2 separate regions of the Homo sapiens genome follow, and region 2 is linked to region 1. The links are contacts of gene promoters, found by promoter capture Hi-C in human tissues and cell types (Jung and others, 2019). All regions are on one chromosome and are shown on one strand. Each heading gives the region's core, a stretch centred on a gene start or on the middle of the fragment in contact. The rest is flanking DNA. Distances are from core to core; before and after follow the strand shown. Region 1 holds the start of CDC27 (cell division cycle 27). Region 2 holds the start of TBKBP1 (TBK1 binding protein 1).

Region 1 (7,952 bases), core at 1,710-4,209:
TCACCATCTAATGATCTCTAAAACAGTATCATGTATATAGTACCCAATTGCTATATTGCTTATTAAATTAATTTTCGAAAGGCTTATTTACAACTTCATCCAACACTTCTGTGAAGTCTTACCCCTAGGAATAATTGCTAAATCTATATAAAATCTCTTTGCTTCTTTTTTAAAAACCAATTTCACCAGGTGACTTTTATAAATATTCAAAAAGCTCTCACTGAAGTCACTTAGGCTAGTGTGTCTTTCCAAATAGTTACCATTAAAAATAAAAGAACTGACAGAAATTCTGCCTCATATGTGAGACTTTTGTAAGGACTCAAATATAAAGTAATACTCTTCTGAGAGGTAGTAATTTGAGACGGAGTTTTAATTTAGGCATATATGGTATATCGGACTGGCCATTCTACATTAAAACTTTAAAGAAAAAAAAATGCAGAAAACAGTTCTTCATATTTTCTGTGAACTTTTTCCTATGCCTAGTAATACCATCAACTCTGAGGCATTCCAAGAAAGAACAATTTTCCAACTTACTCTCATTGCTTTCCAAATACACGCAATCTGTCATCATAGTTTTTTTTTTAATAAAGACAGTATCTTATATATCTGTCCTATTTTTATTCTCTTCCTAATTCTTTCCCATTTGCAGCACTATCCCTGATCATTGATCTTTATCATTGTAGCCAAAGTTGCTTGTTCTTCTCACTGTTCCAAATCCATTCTTGAATGGCTTCTTATACTATACAACCAAAATTTTCACCTAGTCATATCCTAAAACTTTCTACCACTATCTCAAAAATCTAATGGACAATGCTGCTATGAAAAAGAAGCAAATTTGACATTTAAGCCTTAAAAATATCAAAGTGTATTACTGCTCAGAGTACTTTAAGGACAAACAGGAAACCTGATGGGTACTATCTAGAAACAGGCTACATATTCCTTTTCTTTTCCATGCTTTTATTTTTTATTTATTTATTTATTTTGAGATGGAGTCTCACTCTGTCGCCCAGGCTGGAGTGCAGCGGGACCATGTCGGCTCACTGCAAACTCCATCTCCTGGGTTCAGGCAATTCTCCTGCCTCAGCCTCCCAAGTAGCTGGGATTACAGGCGCCCACCACCACGCCTGGCTAATTTTTTATATTTTTAGTAGAGACAGGGTTTCACTGTGTTGGCCAGGCAGGTCTCGAACTCCTGACCTCAGGTGATCCACCCGCCTCAGCCTCCCAAAGTGCTGGGATTTCAGGTGTAAGCCACCACGCCCGGCCTTCCATGCTTTTATAAAGTCTGAAATTATTATTAAATGGTGGTTATAGTCTATCAATGCAACTAGTTTATCACTTTAGAAGACTTCTGGGGCCAGAGAAGGCAAAAAAAAAAAAATCATTAACTATTAAAACAAAATTATAAGAATATGCAACAGAAATTAAATAACTTGAGTAATCTGCTTATCTATTTAAGTTCATGTTAGGCCTTAAAAAATTATATATATATAATTACCTCATCTACAGCCAGAATAAAAAAAAATCTTAAAAGAAACTATACTGGTAAAAAGAATTTGGATGGAAATAGCTCTAGAAAAACTAATACAACTTACAGACAGGTAAATTTCATAAGATATAATCTTACGTTTTATTAATTCAAACACTAATAGCTGCTATATGTAAACAGCTGGAGAAAAAAACCAAACTAGAAGAAATGAGTATTTCATGCTGTTTAGAAAAATGAAATAAATATGAAAGTAGTGATATATTAAAATATTTACTGTTTGATACCTCAAGCCTTTTAAGGGCAATATGAAGGAATTTCTAAAAATCAGTTTGCTTTATAACTTCAAAATAAAGTCCATGACTCAATGACAGCAGTTGATAGAGGTCAATTCTGATCAAGTTAAAGATCATATAGTGGGATGAAGTCTCCCAGACCTGGTCCATTACCAAGGCACAAAAGATACAGTTTCTCCAGATGTCAGGGGGGAAAATGACTTGGCACCGCATCACACACTTAAAATCCAATAGGGTTCCTTTAATGCAACACAGCACTGTGCGTCAAAGCATACCCTGGTGTAAAGGCAGTGAAATGGACAGAAACACCATTATTTGTGTTTCATTTCCTGAATGCCTTATAAACATGCACAACAAAATGCTCCTGATCCCCATCAGAGAGGATGAAAACAACCCAAATGTGCCCTTTCCACCTCCTCCCCTGGTATTGGTGCTTGCGCCTCAGCACTGAGGCTTGGAGTTGTCTTCTCAAACCATCATTGTCCGGTGGGAAATTCACCGAGAAAGGAAACGTGGGATAGGAAGTCTGTTACCAAAATAGAAATTAGTATTAAAAAGACCGATCCTACGCTCCCTCCACCCTCTCATACAAGACAAAATAAAAAAAACCTCCGTAAACTTGCCCTACCGTCACGAAGATCACACAAGCTCCGATCAAATGTGCTTCTCGATCATCTTTTAGGCAAGAGAGCGCTTGGGGTGCATTTTCGGCCCCTCATCTCCCACCCCCAGTCAAGCCAGGCCCCTGGACTGACAGGAAAGGCTGGCCGGACGTTGGCTCGGACGGGAAAGGCGGTTATTTTCGCCGAAGCCGCTCACGCTAAGGGTGAAGTAATGTAGGGCCAGAGGTAACACGGCTTAGGCTGTGGGCAAGGCCTCCGAACTGACTAAAGATAGGCAGGACACGGCAGCAGGGGAGGCGGGAGAAGCAGCCGGGCCTAGGCCGCACCAGGCCGCGGAGTGGCCCTACGCTGCTGCTTCCCGACCGAGGCTGCCAGCCAAGCCCCAGAGAAGAAGGTTATCATTACCTGGACGGGTTCCTGCAGCACCGTCATCCTCGAGGCTCAGGCCCACTTTCTGCAGTGCCTCAGGCCCCCCCTGTAGCGGCTCCGGCCCGGCCAGCCCCTGCTCATTTAAACTCACCAGCGACCGTTACCGGGGGATGGGGGAGGCCGAGCGATTGCCGAGTGCTTCCGAGCGGGACACGGGAATACCCGAAGTGGAGAAAGCCGAGCGGGAACCAGACGGAAAAGCCCGAAGGGAGTCGGAAATACCCGAGGTTGGTCGACGAGAGAGAAAACCGTTGCCGGAAATTGTCGAAGATTACCGGAAGCTACCGAGTCTGACCCAAAGCGTAGGTTTCTCTTCTCAGCCACGCCTTCAGCCACGCACACCACGCCCAATCGGCCGTCCCAGGGTTGGGCTACGCCAAATCTGCAACCAGCAGGCTGGGCGTGGCGTGACAGCGCGGGCGGGTAGCGTTACGTGGCGGGGCTGCAGTGTGGATTAGCCCCTCAGCCCTTTTGGATTAATTGGTGTGCTGTAGATTATGAAGCAAAGGGTGAAACAGCAGAGTTTGGGGCTGTCTTTAATGAATCAACAAGTATTTGTCTATTGAGTTTAGATCATTCGTCCATTCCAGAAGTATCTACTCACGGCTCTGGGGGAAAGCTAAAGAAATTTGGAAAGATTGCCACTCCCCAAAGACATAGGATAGCTTCTGTCTTCAAGGAGATTAAGGTCTATTTAAGGGAAAAGCAGTGTAACAGAGAACGCTATATTATATGGTGCCTATTATAAGTAATATAAAAATTCAGAGAGGGCAATTGTGATAAGATAAGGAAAGTTCTATGGAAGGAAAAAAAAGTTTAAAATGGAGTTTGAAGGATGGGTAAAATTAGAGGAAAAAGAAGTATAGGAAAGTGAAGGGAGGAAAAATGGGATCAGTCTGCTAAGAAGGCATTAATTGGAAATAGTTACTTAGGTGAAGAGATCATGGAAAAGCTCAATAGGCCATTAGAAATTTTTATTTTTGATAGGTGAGGCATTCCGCTGTGGTGGGAAGAGTAGGGGGTCGGAAATTCAGAGGCCTGGTTTTGAATTTTATCTTTAGCACTAACTAGTCATAGGTCCTTGGCAAATTACCTCTCTGAACTTATGTTCGCTTAGTTTGAAAAAAAAGGATTAAGAGAATTCGATGTATTATAAATGTGGCCGTGTCTAGCATGCAATGTAGACTCTCTCATATTTCCTTTCTGCTCCCCTTCTCCCCCCAAAAAGAGTGAACCAGGGGACTGTTTAAATTTTGTTTTTCAGCAGATGAGGAAACAGTTTTTGAAAGTTACTTTTCTAGTCAGGAGCTCTCTAGGCTAGATGTGAGAATCATGATATATTCCATTGCTTGGAAATTTCCCTTTGGGTGATGTTAGAGGGAGATATTTTTTCTTTCATTTTTAAAAACAAGGCTGACAGAGCTACACTGCATCCTTCTCCACCGCCTTGTCTTGTCACTGTATATATACTTATAGCCCCTAAAGGGCAGGTGCTAAGATGATTTTTGGCTGCCCTGTGCCCAGTTGCTTTAGCGGGATTATGCTGGATGACTTGAGTGGTAACAGACTTTTACACTGGCCTGGAAAGTAGCCATTAGCTATTTAAAGTTTAAGTTAAAATGAAATTAAAAATGAAGTTCTTCAGATGCCCTAGCCACATTCCAAGGATTCAGTAGCCCTGTATGTGGCTAGTGACTGCCATATTGGACAGTCACACAGATATAGAAGAACATCACCAGCACTGGCTTGGCTAGGGCTGAAAGATTCAAGATGGCTTCACTCACATGTCTAGGGTGTCAGTGGTAGCTATTGGCTGGGTCCTTCATTTCTTCTCTGCATGACCTCTCTTTTCACACTGGCCTCTTATGAGTCAGTAGTTTAGCTCCAGCTTCTTGACTTGGTGGTTGACAACAAAGTGCGCAAAAATAGAAGCTGTGAGGTCCCTTAGGCCTAGGCCTGTGAGCATCACTTCTTGTTGGTCAGAGTAAGACTCAGAGCCACCCTGGATTCACCAGGAGGAATAGTCTACTTCTTAATGGGAAGAGTGGCAAAGTAACACCACAAAGGGCGTGTGCCATGGGAGGAGTTTTTGGGTCATCTTTGGAAACAATCTACCACGCTAGATATGAGATGAGAGTATCTAAGATTGGGAATGGAAAGAAAGGGATAAGTAAGAGCTATCACTCTTAAAATGTGACCCTTTCAACTGAACACAGTACTCCAGATTTATTCTGAATAATTCAGAATGCAGTTGGACTATTATTATCTGGACACGTCTATTAAAGTGGACTACAGTTGTATTTACATTTTTTTTTTCCGAGACTGAGTCTTGCTCTGTTGCCCAGAGCTGGAGTGTAATGGCGCAATCTCGGCTGACTGCGTCCTCCGCCTCCGGGGTTCAAGCAATTCTCCTGTCTCAACGTCCCGAGTAGCTGGGATTGCAGGTGCGCACCACCACGCCCGGTTAATTTTTGTATTTTTAGTAGAGACGGGGTTTCACCATGTTGGCCAGGCTGGTCTCAAACTCCTGATCTCATGATCCACCCATCTCGGCCTCCCAAAGTGCTGGGATTACAGGTGTGAGCCACTGTGCCCAGCCTGTATTTACATTTTTTAGCAGTCACATGACACTGTTTGCTCATGCTAAACTTGTGTGGTCATTTACGGACTCAGCTCTTTTTCACACAACATGCTGCCAACCCAAGTCTTGTATGTGTGCAGCAGAGTTTTGTAAACCTAAATATAGGACCTTACCACAGAGGATACATAAAGATGATACTTTGTGAAAATATGGATCTAGAGTCAGCATTTAAAGAGCCTCTGATGCTTGGCACTCTGGCTTATAGGCTTAGAATTTGCCTAAAGCCTTTTTTCTTTTTTTAACCTAAAAAAGAGCATTTCCTGGCTGGGTGAGGTGGCTCACGCCTGTAATCCCAACACTTTGGGAGGCCAATGCAGACGGATCACCTGAGGTCAGGCGTTCCAGACCAGCCTGACCAACATGGAGAAAACCTGTCTCTACTAAAAATACCAAATTAGCTGGGCGTGGTGGCACATGCCTGTAATCCCAGCTACTTGGGAGGCTGAGGCAGGAGAATCGCTTGAACCTGGGAGGTGGAGGTTGCGGTGAGCTGAGATTGCGCCATTGTTCTCCAGCCTGGGCAACAAGAGCAAAACTCCGTCTCAAAAAAAAAAAAAGGCCAGGCGCGTTGGCTCACGCCTGTAATCCCAGCACTTTAGGAGGCCAAGGCGGGCAGATCACAAGGTCAGGAGATCGAGACCATCCTGGCTAACACAGTGAAACCCCATCTCTACTAAAAATACAAAAAATTGGCCGGGCGTGGTGGTGGGCACCTGTGGTCCCCAGCTGCTGGGGAGGCTGAGGCAGGAGAATGGCGTGAATCTGGGAGGCGGAGCTTGCGGTGAGCTGAGATCGGGCCACTGCACTCCAGCCTGGGTGACAGTGCAAGACTGTGTCTCAAAAAAAAAAAAGCATCTCCTTTCTGATTGTTGTTGACCAGGCTAATACATCTGTTGTGGTTTCTACTCATCCACAGCAAAGCCACATTGTTTGAAGTACTTTGATGGGGTATTTTGGAGTGTTTTTACTTCCTTCTCTGCTCCTAATTGACCTACTTAAACTCGCTATTCATCAACCACTTGGGCATCCTGCTGTCATCCGTTATCCAATATGTTTGGCTAGTGAGTGGAGTTGGGTTACAACAGCATTATTCCAAAAATGGAATTGGAAAATTATTTTTTCTCCTAAGCCTGCTTCTTGGTCTATTTCATATTCAGTCAGATTTGGAGGCTGGCATTTAGGGAACTATTCAAAAAGCTAGACGTGATATCAGTAGCAAAATGTAGGTCCCACTGAAACATAGCCCAGAGTAAGTGTACTCTCCTGAAGTCTTTCAGTCCTCCTTGTCTGTACCCTTCATTTTGTCCCTGTTGCGTGCGGTTTTATGGCCTCCTTACCTGACCTTGCACCCCACCACCCCCACCCCACCCTCACCATGTTTACTCTTTGGTCAAATCATCCTCTTCTTTTGGCTTCTCTAATGACACCATCTCCTAGCTTTCCTCCTACTGCTCTGTTTTTGTTTGTTTGTTTGTTTGAGAGAGTCTCGCTCTGTCACCCAGGCTGGAGTGCAATGGCGCTATCTCGGCTCACTGCAGCCTCCGTCTCCTGGGTTCAAGCGATTCTCCTGCCTCAGCCCCCTGAGTAGCTGAATTTACAGGTGTGCGCCACCACACCCAGCTAATTTTTGTATTTTCAGTAGAGACGGAGTTTCGCCATGTTGGCTGGGCTGGTCTCGAACTCTTGACCTCAAGTGATCTGCCTGCCTCAGCCTTCCAAAATGCTGGGATTACAGGCATGAGCCACTGCGCCTGGCCTACTGCTCTGTTTTTTAATCGGTTTCCTTTGCAGCTCCTCTGCCAGCCCCTTTAATATTAAGCATGCTTCAAGGACCTGTTCTAGGCCTTCTTCTCACCCACCCTACACATTCTTCTTAGGCAAAACTATCCTTTCTTTCTTTCTTTCCTTCCTTCCTTCCTTCCTTTCTTTCTTTCTTCCTTTTTCTTTCTCTTTCCTTTCTTTTGAGACAGAGTCTCACTCTGTCACCCAGGCTGGAGTGCAGTGGTGTGATCTCAGCCCGCTGCAACCTCCACCTCCCAGGTTCAAGCGATTCTCCTGCCTCAGCCTCCCGAGTAGCTGGGACCACAGGCACACGCCACCATGCCAGGCTAATTTTTGCATTTTTAGTAGAGATGGGGTTTCGCCATGTTGGCCAGGCTGGTCTCCTGACCTTAGGTGATCCACCCACCTTGGCCTCCCAAAGTGCTGGGATTACAGGCGTAAGCCACCATACCCCGCCCCTATCCATTCTTGTGGCCCCAGTTTCTCATCTACAAATGGTTTGAAAAATTTGTATCTCCAGCCAGACTACTTTTTAGAGCTCCAGGCCCAAATGACTAACTGCCAAGAGGACACCTTTATCTGGATGTCTCATAGGTACTTTGTTCGGAATGGAACCCCTCATTGTCTTAAAATATTTCCTATCCCAGTTTAAGATATCACCATCTTTTCCATTGCCCAAAAGATTAGATAAGGGT
Region 2 (7,027 bases), core at 4,528-7,027, 500 kb after region 1:
GGTGTATGCCTGTAATCCCAGCACTTTGGGAGGCCGATGTGGGAGGATCGCCTAGAAGTTGGAGACCAGCCTGGGCAACATAGCAAGACCTTGTCTCTACAAATAATAAAAAACATTAGGCTGGGCGTGGTGGCTCACGCCTGTAATCCCAGCACTTTGGGAGGCTGAGGCAGGCGGATCACCTGAGGTCAGGAGTTTGAGACCAGCCTGGTCAACATGGTGAAACCCCATCTCTACTACTAATACAAAAATTAGCTGGGCATGGTGGTGCATGCCTGTAGTCCCAGCTACTCAGGAGGCTGAGGCAGAAAAATCGCTTGAACCTGGGAGGCGGAGGTTGCATTGAGCTGAGATCGCGCCACTGCACTCCAGCCCGGGCAACAAAGCAAGACTCTGTCTCACAAAACAAAAACAAAAACAAAAACAAAAAACAGGCTGGGCGCAGTGGCTCACGCCTGTAATCCCATCACTTTGGGAGGCCGAGGCAGGCGGATCACCTGAGGTCAGGAGTTCAAGACCAGCCTGACCAACATGGTGAAACCCCGTCTCAACTAAAAATACAAAATTAGCTGGGCGTGATGGCACATGCCTACAATCCCAGCTACTCAGGAGGCCAAGGCAGGAGAATCACTTGAACCTGGGAGGTGGAGGTTGCGGTGAGCTGAGATCGCGCCATTGTACTCCAGCCTGGACGACAAGAGCGAAACTCCATCTCAAAAACAAAAACAAAAAAACACATTAGCCAGGTGTGGTGGGAGGATGAGGCAGGAGGATCACTTGGGCCCAGGCGATCAAGTCTGCAGTGAGATGTGATTGCGCTACTGCACTTACCAAACAACTGTTTACGTGCCAGGAGACACTGGGGATATAGCAGTGAATAAGCAAACAAAATCTTCCTGTGGAGCTCACATTCTGATGGATAAATAATCAATATTCAATAATTCAATATAACTTTTTTTTTTTTTTTTTTGAGACGGAGTCTTGCTCTGTCACCCAGGCTGGAGTGCAGTGGCGCGATCTCGGCTCACTGCAAGCTCCGCCTCCCGGGTTCACGCCATTCTCCTGCCTCAGCCTCCTGAGTAGCTGGGACTACAGGCGCCCGCCACCACGCCCGGGTAATTTTTTGTATTTTTAGTAGAGACGGGGTTTCACCGTGTTAGCCAGGATGGTTTCGATCTCCTGACCTTGTGATCCACCCGCTTCGGCCTCCCAAAGTGCTGGGATTACAGGCGTAAGCCACCGCGCCTGACCTCAATATAACCTTTTAAAAATTCTGTTTGGGAGATAGCAGAAATGAACATGGCTGTGGAGAAAAATGAAGCACATATGGAATTATAAAAAACAAAAAACATCTGGGCGTGGTGGCTCATGCCTGTAATCCCAGCACTTTGGGAGGCTGAGGTGGGGGATCACCTGAGGTTGGGAGTTTGAGACCAGCCTGACCAACATGGAGAAACCCCATCTCTACTAAAAATACAAAATTAGCCAGGCATGGTGGCACATGCCTGTAATCCCAGCTACTCGGGAGACTGAGGCAGGAGAATTGCTTGAACCCGGGAGGTGGAGGCTGCGGTGAGCCGCGATGGTGCCATTGCACTCCAGCCAGGGCAACAAGAGTGAAACTCCGTCTCAAAAAAAAAAAAAAAAAAAACCACTCTATTCCTTCCCAAACCCTACTAATTCAATTAGGGGCTCTGCATTACCTCCACAGGAATTTGGGGACGTGGTGAAGGAATGTCTTTCTACCACTGCCCTACCCTCCCATCTGATGGAACACCTGCAGCTGCAGTTGGAGTCCCAGGATGCTTGCATGGTGAATGGCCCACTTTCTAGGGTCTGGAACTGGAGGGCGAAGGTGGCACCTAGATCCTGCAGTCACATGGGGCTAATCAATTTTCCTGCCCGCCAGGGTTCCATTTGAGTCATCTGGGTTTTATTTTGATTCAGCCTCTTTAACTGGCTGCTAATGTCACCTCCTCCTACTCTTTTCAGGCAATAATGGGACAGGAAAGACAGCCTCCAGAGCAAGAGTCATGGGAGTGGGAGAGTCTCCCTGGTGGTTTCCAAGGAGGAAACACTGGCAGGGCCTGGCTCTGGGGGCCTGCATTTGCACTGTCTCTCCTACCTTAACGATTGGAGGTGGGTCCTCTGTTATCACACCTGTGAAGGCCATTTAGAAATGTTTTACAACTCATGCCTGACCACTGTCCACCACTTTCCCCACTGTCCTCCCACTGTGGCTCCTATCCCCTTCACCATCTCCCCTATTATTGTCTCCACCATGATGAGCCCTGCCAATACCAGGGGCTCTTAAAAGGGATTCAGACCAGCTGGGCATGGTGTCTCACGCCTGTAATCCCAGCACTTTGGAATGCCGAGGCAGGCGGATCACGAGGTCAGGAGATCGAGACCCCATCTCTACTAAAAATACAAAAAATTAGCTGGGCGTGGTGGCGGGCGCCTGTAGTTCCAGCTACTCAGGAGGCTGAGGCAGGAGAATGGCATGAACCTGGGAGGCGGAGCTTGCAGTGAGCGGAGACCACGCCACTGCACTCCAGCCTGGGTGACAGAGCGAGACTCCGTCTCATAAAAAAATAAAAATAAAAATAAAAAGGGTATTCAGACCAATGTTCAGCTTTCTCAGATGAGGAAACAGGCCTAGAAAAGTGAAGTAGTCTTAAGTCACACTGCCTCATTTATTTATTCATTCAACAAAGAACATACTTTCTTACTCTTTTAAGATTTAGCTTAGCCAGGTGCGGTGGCTCATGCCTGTAATCACAGCACTTTGGGAGGCCGAGGCAGGTGGATGGCTTGAACCCAGGATTTTGAGAGCAGCCTGGGCTACATGGTGAAACCTTGTCTCTACAAAAAATACAAAAATTAGCCGGGCGTGTGGCATACGCCTGTAGTCCCAGCTGAGGCGCAAGCCACCACGCCTGGAGACTGAGGTGGGAGGATCACCTTAGCCCAGGAGGGCGAAGCTGCAGTGAGCCAAAATTGCACCACTGCACTCCAGCCTGGGCGCCAGAGAAAGACCCTGTCTTTTAAAAAAAAAAAATTGTAAGAGCTCATCAAGGAGACCTTCTCTGAATACTGTGAAGCAGATCCCATCCTCCCATTCTTCTCTAGTACTGCCCCTTGGTGTTTCTTTTTATCCTTTATCACAATTTCCTTCCTTCCTTCTTTCCTTCTTTCTTTTTTTTGAGACGGAGTTTCGCTCTTGTCACCCAGGCTGGAGTGCAATGGGGTCACCTCGGTTCACTGCAACCTCTACCTCCTGGGTTCAAGCAATTCTTCTGCCTCAGCCTCCCGAGTAGCTGGGATTACAGGGACCCACCGTCATGCCTGGCTAATTTTTGCATGTTTAGTAGAGACGGGTTTCACCATGTTGGTCAGGCTGGTCTCAAAGTCCTGACCTCAGGTGATCTGCCTGCCTCAGCCCCACAAAGTGCTGGGATTACAGGCATGAGCCACTGTGCCTGGTCCTTTATCACAATTTCTAGTGGTTTTACTTATTCATCTTTTTATTTTTCTGACTTCTCTACCATACTGCAAGCTCTAAGAGAGCAAGAGACATGTATACCTGTCAGAGACATGTTCAGCACTGTATTCTCAGCACCCAGCACATAATAGATGTTCAAGAAATCTTTGCCGAATAAATATACAACGAGCAGGTACCAACCCTCAGGGCACCTTAGAATACAAGGATGGATGGGATATAATCTCTGCTCTCAGAACTGCCTGGTATGAGCAGCAGAACTAGAAATGGAGAATGCAATGAGATCAGGTCCAGATTGGGGGAGGGGGAGGATTTTAGGGCACCTAAACCAGGCCTAATGGACTTTTGCCACCAACCACCTAGAACCAAGGATAGAAGCATTTGGCTGCACCCTGCCAGGTGACTCAATTAGGCCCTGAGCATCCAAGCAGCAGCAGGGGGCTGATGACTCATCCCAGACAGTGTGTGCTTAGAGGGTCCTGGGACCCCTTTTTCCAGTGAGGGAGGGCTTGCCAGTTGGTCTTATGGGTCCTGTTTGTGGCCAAGTCCAAGGTCACCGAGGGTCCCAGAGACAACCCTACACCTCCTAGTCTAGCCTCCAATCTTTTGCCTGGTCCCTTGCTTCAGAAGAGATCTTGGGGAGTACTAGGGAAAGGAACATCTGCCTAGCCCTTGGGATTAGTGGGGTGACAGATGTCCCCACTGGTTTGCCTTCATATCTAGAGGGTAGATAGGTCATCCCACATGGTTCAGAGAAAGCTAGTGCCTCAGAGAACAAGTGGCTGACCTGCCTTCCTGTTCTGGACTACAAACGGGAGCCAGTGCTGGCAGGAAAGACTGAAAGGGAACCCAGCAGGAGGAGGAGGAAGGAAGCCACTGAGAATCCCCCCTTCTATGAAGAGAATGAGTCTAGAGCTCTGGCTGGCTCTCCTGGTAGAAGCTCACCTCTCAGTCCAATTTTCTCCCAGCAGTGAGGAAAGATGGCAGCTGCTGCTTTTCAAAGCTCAGAGAGAGCAAGAAACCTTTTCCTTCCATCCTCCCCCTCGGAGATTCCCACCCCCATCCCACCTCAGGAGCCAAAAAGGTAGGCTCAGGTTCCCAGCAGTCTTCGCAGCTAAGGCTGAATCTGCCAAAAGCCCCCGCCCAGCTTATCCCCTGCTTCCGGGCTTTGCCTCCCTGTCCACAGAGGATGCTCTTCAGCCAGAGTGCTCCAGGGTTCCCCTGATCATTCTCTACCTGCAGCTAGGCTGACCATGCCTCTGTCCACATTATTTAATCCACCAGGCAATACTCAAAATGACATCGTTAACACTTCCTGAGCATTCGCAGGCTGCTGTATTTAGTTCTGATCCCCATTCTTCCTCCATGAGAGTGCTTAGGTGGGGCATGATCTCCAGCTTAGAAAGGTTAAGGTAACTTGCCCAAGGTCACACAGCAGGAAAGTAGCAAAAAACTTGTTTCTCTTGCCCAGCAGTTTGGCAGGTGCTCAAATAATCTTTGTGCACAGGGTGACATCTGTTGTTTCTTCATTTCCCTGACCTGTGGGTACTTGAGGGTGGCCGGGGAGTGGTGTGTGGGGAGGGAGATGGCTGTCCTTCTTCATGAATGAATCTTTGACCTCCTTAGTTTACTCTCACTTCCAAAGAAGTTACAGCTTTAATCTCTCTGTACCCTATGTTCAATGTATTTATCGCAGCAATGCCCCTTTTACCAAGAGCAACGAAGAGCAGGTCTAATGATTTCCTTCTCAAAAGCGCAAAGACCAAAAAAAAAAAAAAAAAGCCAGATAAATAGCCCCACTTCCTCCCCAAATATACAGCCCATAACTAAACAACCAAAACAACCAAAGCATCAGCCGGGCCCCTGCACTGACCGCAGACGCCCCCAACACACGCCACCACGCCACACTGCGCCGGGAGGCGTCGGGGAGGGGGCGCCAGCGCGGGCCGCTGGCGCCGCAGGGAGCCGGTGGGCTCCGGGCGCGCTGCCAGGAAGGGCCGCACCGTAGGGGCCGCCGCCTCTCGCCACGTGGTGGTGGCAGCGGCGGGGTCCGGGGCGCCTTCCCAGCTGGAGAAACCCGGAGCAGCCGGGGAGGAGGAGGCGGAGGAGGCGGCGGCGGCGGAGGAGGAGCGGGGCGGACGGGAGGGAGGGGGTTGGGGGGAGGGGTGGGGGGTGGGGAGAGACCCGGCGGCGGCGACAGGGCGAGGAGCAGAGCGCGGTACCAGGGGGGTGGGGGCACTGGTGCCCGTTTGGGGAGGGAGCAGGCGGAGGGGGTAAGCTGCGATTACAAGCAGGAACCGGCAGCAGCTGTGAGTCCCCGGCTGGGGCTAGGGCTGGGGGAGGGGAGCGGCGCCCGGGCTGGGCCCCAGGGGTCGCGGGGTGGGCAGGAGGAGGCGGCAGGAGGGCGGCTGGCAGCCGCACGGGATGGCTGGGAGGGAAGGGGTCCGGTGTCGGCCGCCCTCATCCCCTCGCGTCCCCCTCCGCCGCCGTTCCTCAGGCCGCGCCACTCCCGGAGCCCCTTCCCCGGCCCCGAGAGGGTGTCCGGGGGCCCAGGGCTCGGCCGGTTGTGGGGGAGGGGGCTGCGTGGTCTCGGCCCCCGAGAGGGGAGGGGCGACAATTTCTGTCGGCCGAGCGAAAGGGGTTTAAAGGGCGGCTCTTAAAGGGGCCGCAGGAGGGGCCCGGGCCGACAGAGGCACTCACCCCTTCCCCAGCCGCCTTCCATTGCGCTCACCCGGGCGCTGGGCCCAGAGAGGAATGCGGAGGAAGGAGGCATTTGTGGTGCGGCCTCGGGGACAGAGCCCCGCCAGCGGGGTGGGCGCAGAGGGGCGGGCGGGGGTCTGGGGGGGTGTGGTAAGCGCTGGCGCGCGGAGCTGGGGGGAGGGGATGGCGTGGGAAGGAGAGGGTTAAAGGTGGGGCCGGCCCTACAAACGCGCGCACACACTCCTTACTCAGACCCAGTCACTCGCGTTTCCCTGGCACTTAGATGGGCCTGTGGGTGGCGGAGGGGGGGGGGTGGATTGAATTGGAGCCTGCGCCGGAGCCCTTTGCACCCCAAGCTCCTGCAGCCCGACCTGGGGGCCCCGCTGTCTGAACTCACAGCTCCCTGCCGAGCCCCCTCTCCGGGGTGCACATAACGCTCCAGCGCGCGCACACACCTCGGACAGTCCCCTCGCGTCTCACGTGACACGCGGCCCGGACGTGCCACCCTGCCCACGCGCTCACGCACGCGTGCACACACCAGCCTCCTGGTCGCTGCCCCACTCCGTCCCGACGCCCCTGCGACCCCGAAGGCACTCATTGACTGACACACCTACACTCATTCACAGACGCACACTCCCCCCATACGCCAACCCCAGACACACATTCATAACCAGGCCCGAGAGAAGTACACACGCACCCCCTCACTGCCTACTCCTGCTTTCGGGAGCCTGAGTCATTCCTGCCCCCTCGTAGGGTTCCCCATTTCCCGGTGCGCGGGCACCCTGAGACAGCCTTGGGAATTCGTTCGCGTCCCCTTCCACCTGG

What was found. Contacts are between HindIII fragments. The study calls those that stand out against the background at their distance.
Region 2: the fragment with the promoter of TBKBP1 here is called in contact with the fragment with the promoter of CDC27 in region 1 in 1 of the 25 tissues and cell types used here (dorsolateral prefrontal cortex).

The regions. Positions count from the first base shown.
Region 1 is chr17:47,186,336-47,194,287 of GRCh38, forward strand. CDC27 (cell division cycle 27) reads right to left here and starts at 2,960. Exons shown (of 19, transcript NM_001256.6): 1 at 2,811-2,960. The coding sequence starts at 2,837. It also overlaps a transcript of MYL4 not described here. RefSeq lists a silencer at 2,485-2,534 and enhancers at 2,568-3,164, 2,695-2,884. The HindIII fragment of the contact is 11,296 bases long and covers 1-7,952 here.
Region 2 is chr17:47,688,384-47,695,410 of GRCh38, forward strand. It overlaps TBKBP1 (TBK1 binding protein 1), which reads left to right and starts at 5,778. Exons shown (of 10, transcript NM_001394755.1): 1 at 5,778-5,811. RefSeq lists enhancers at 5,533-6,213, 6,214-6,893, 6,894-7,027 and silencers at 5,997-6,126, 6,377-6,436. The HindIII fragment of the contact is 16,798 bases long and covers 1-7,027 here.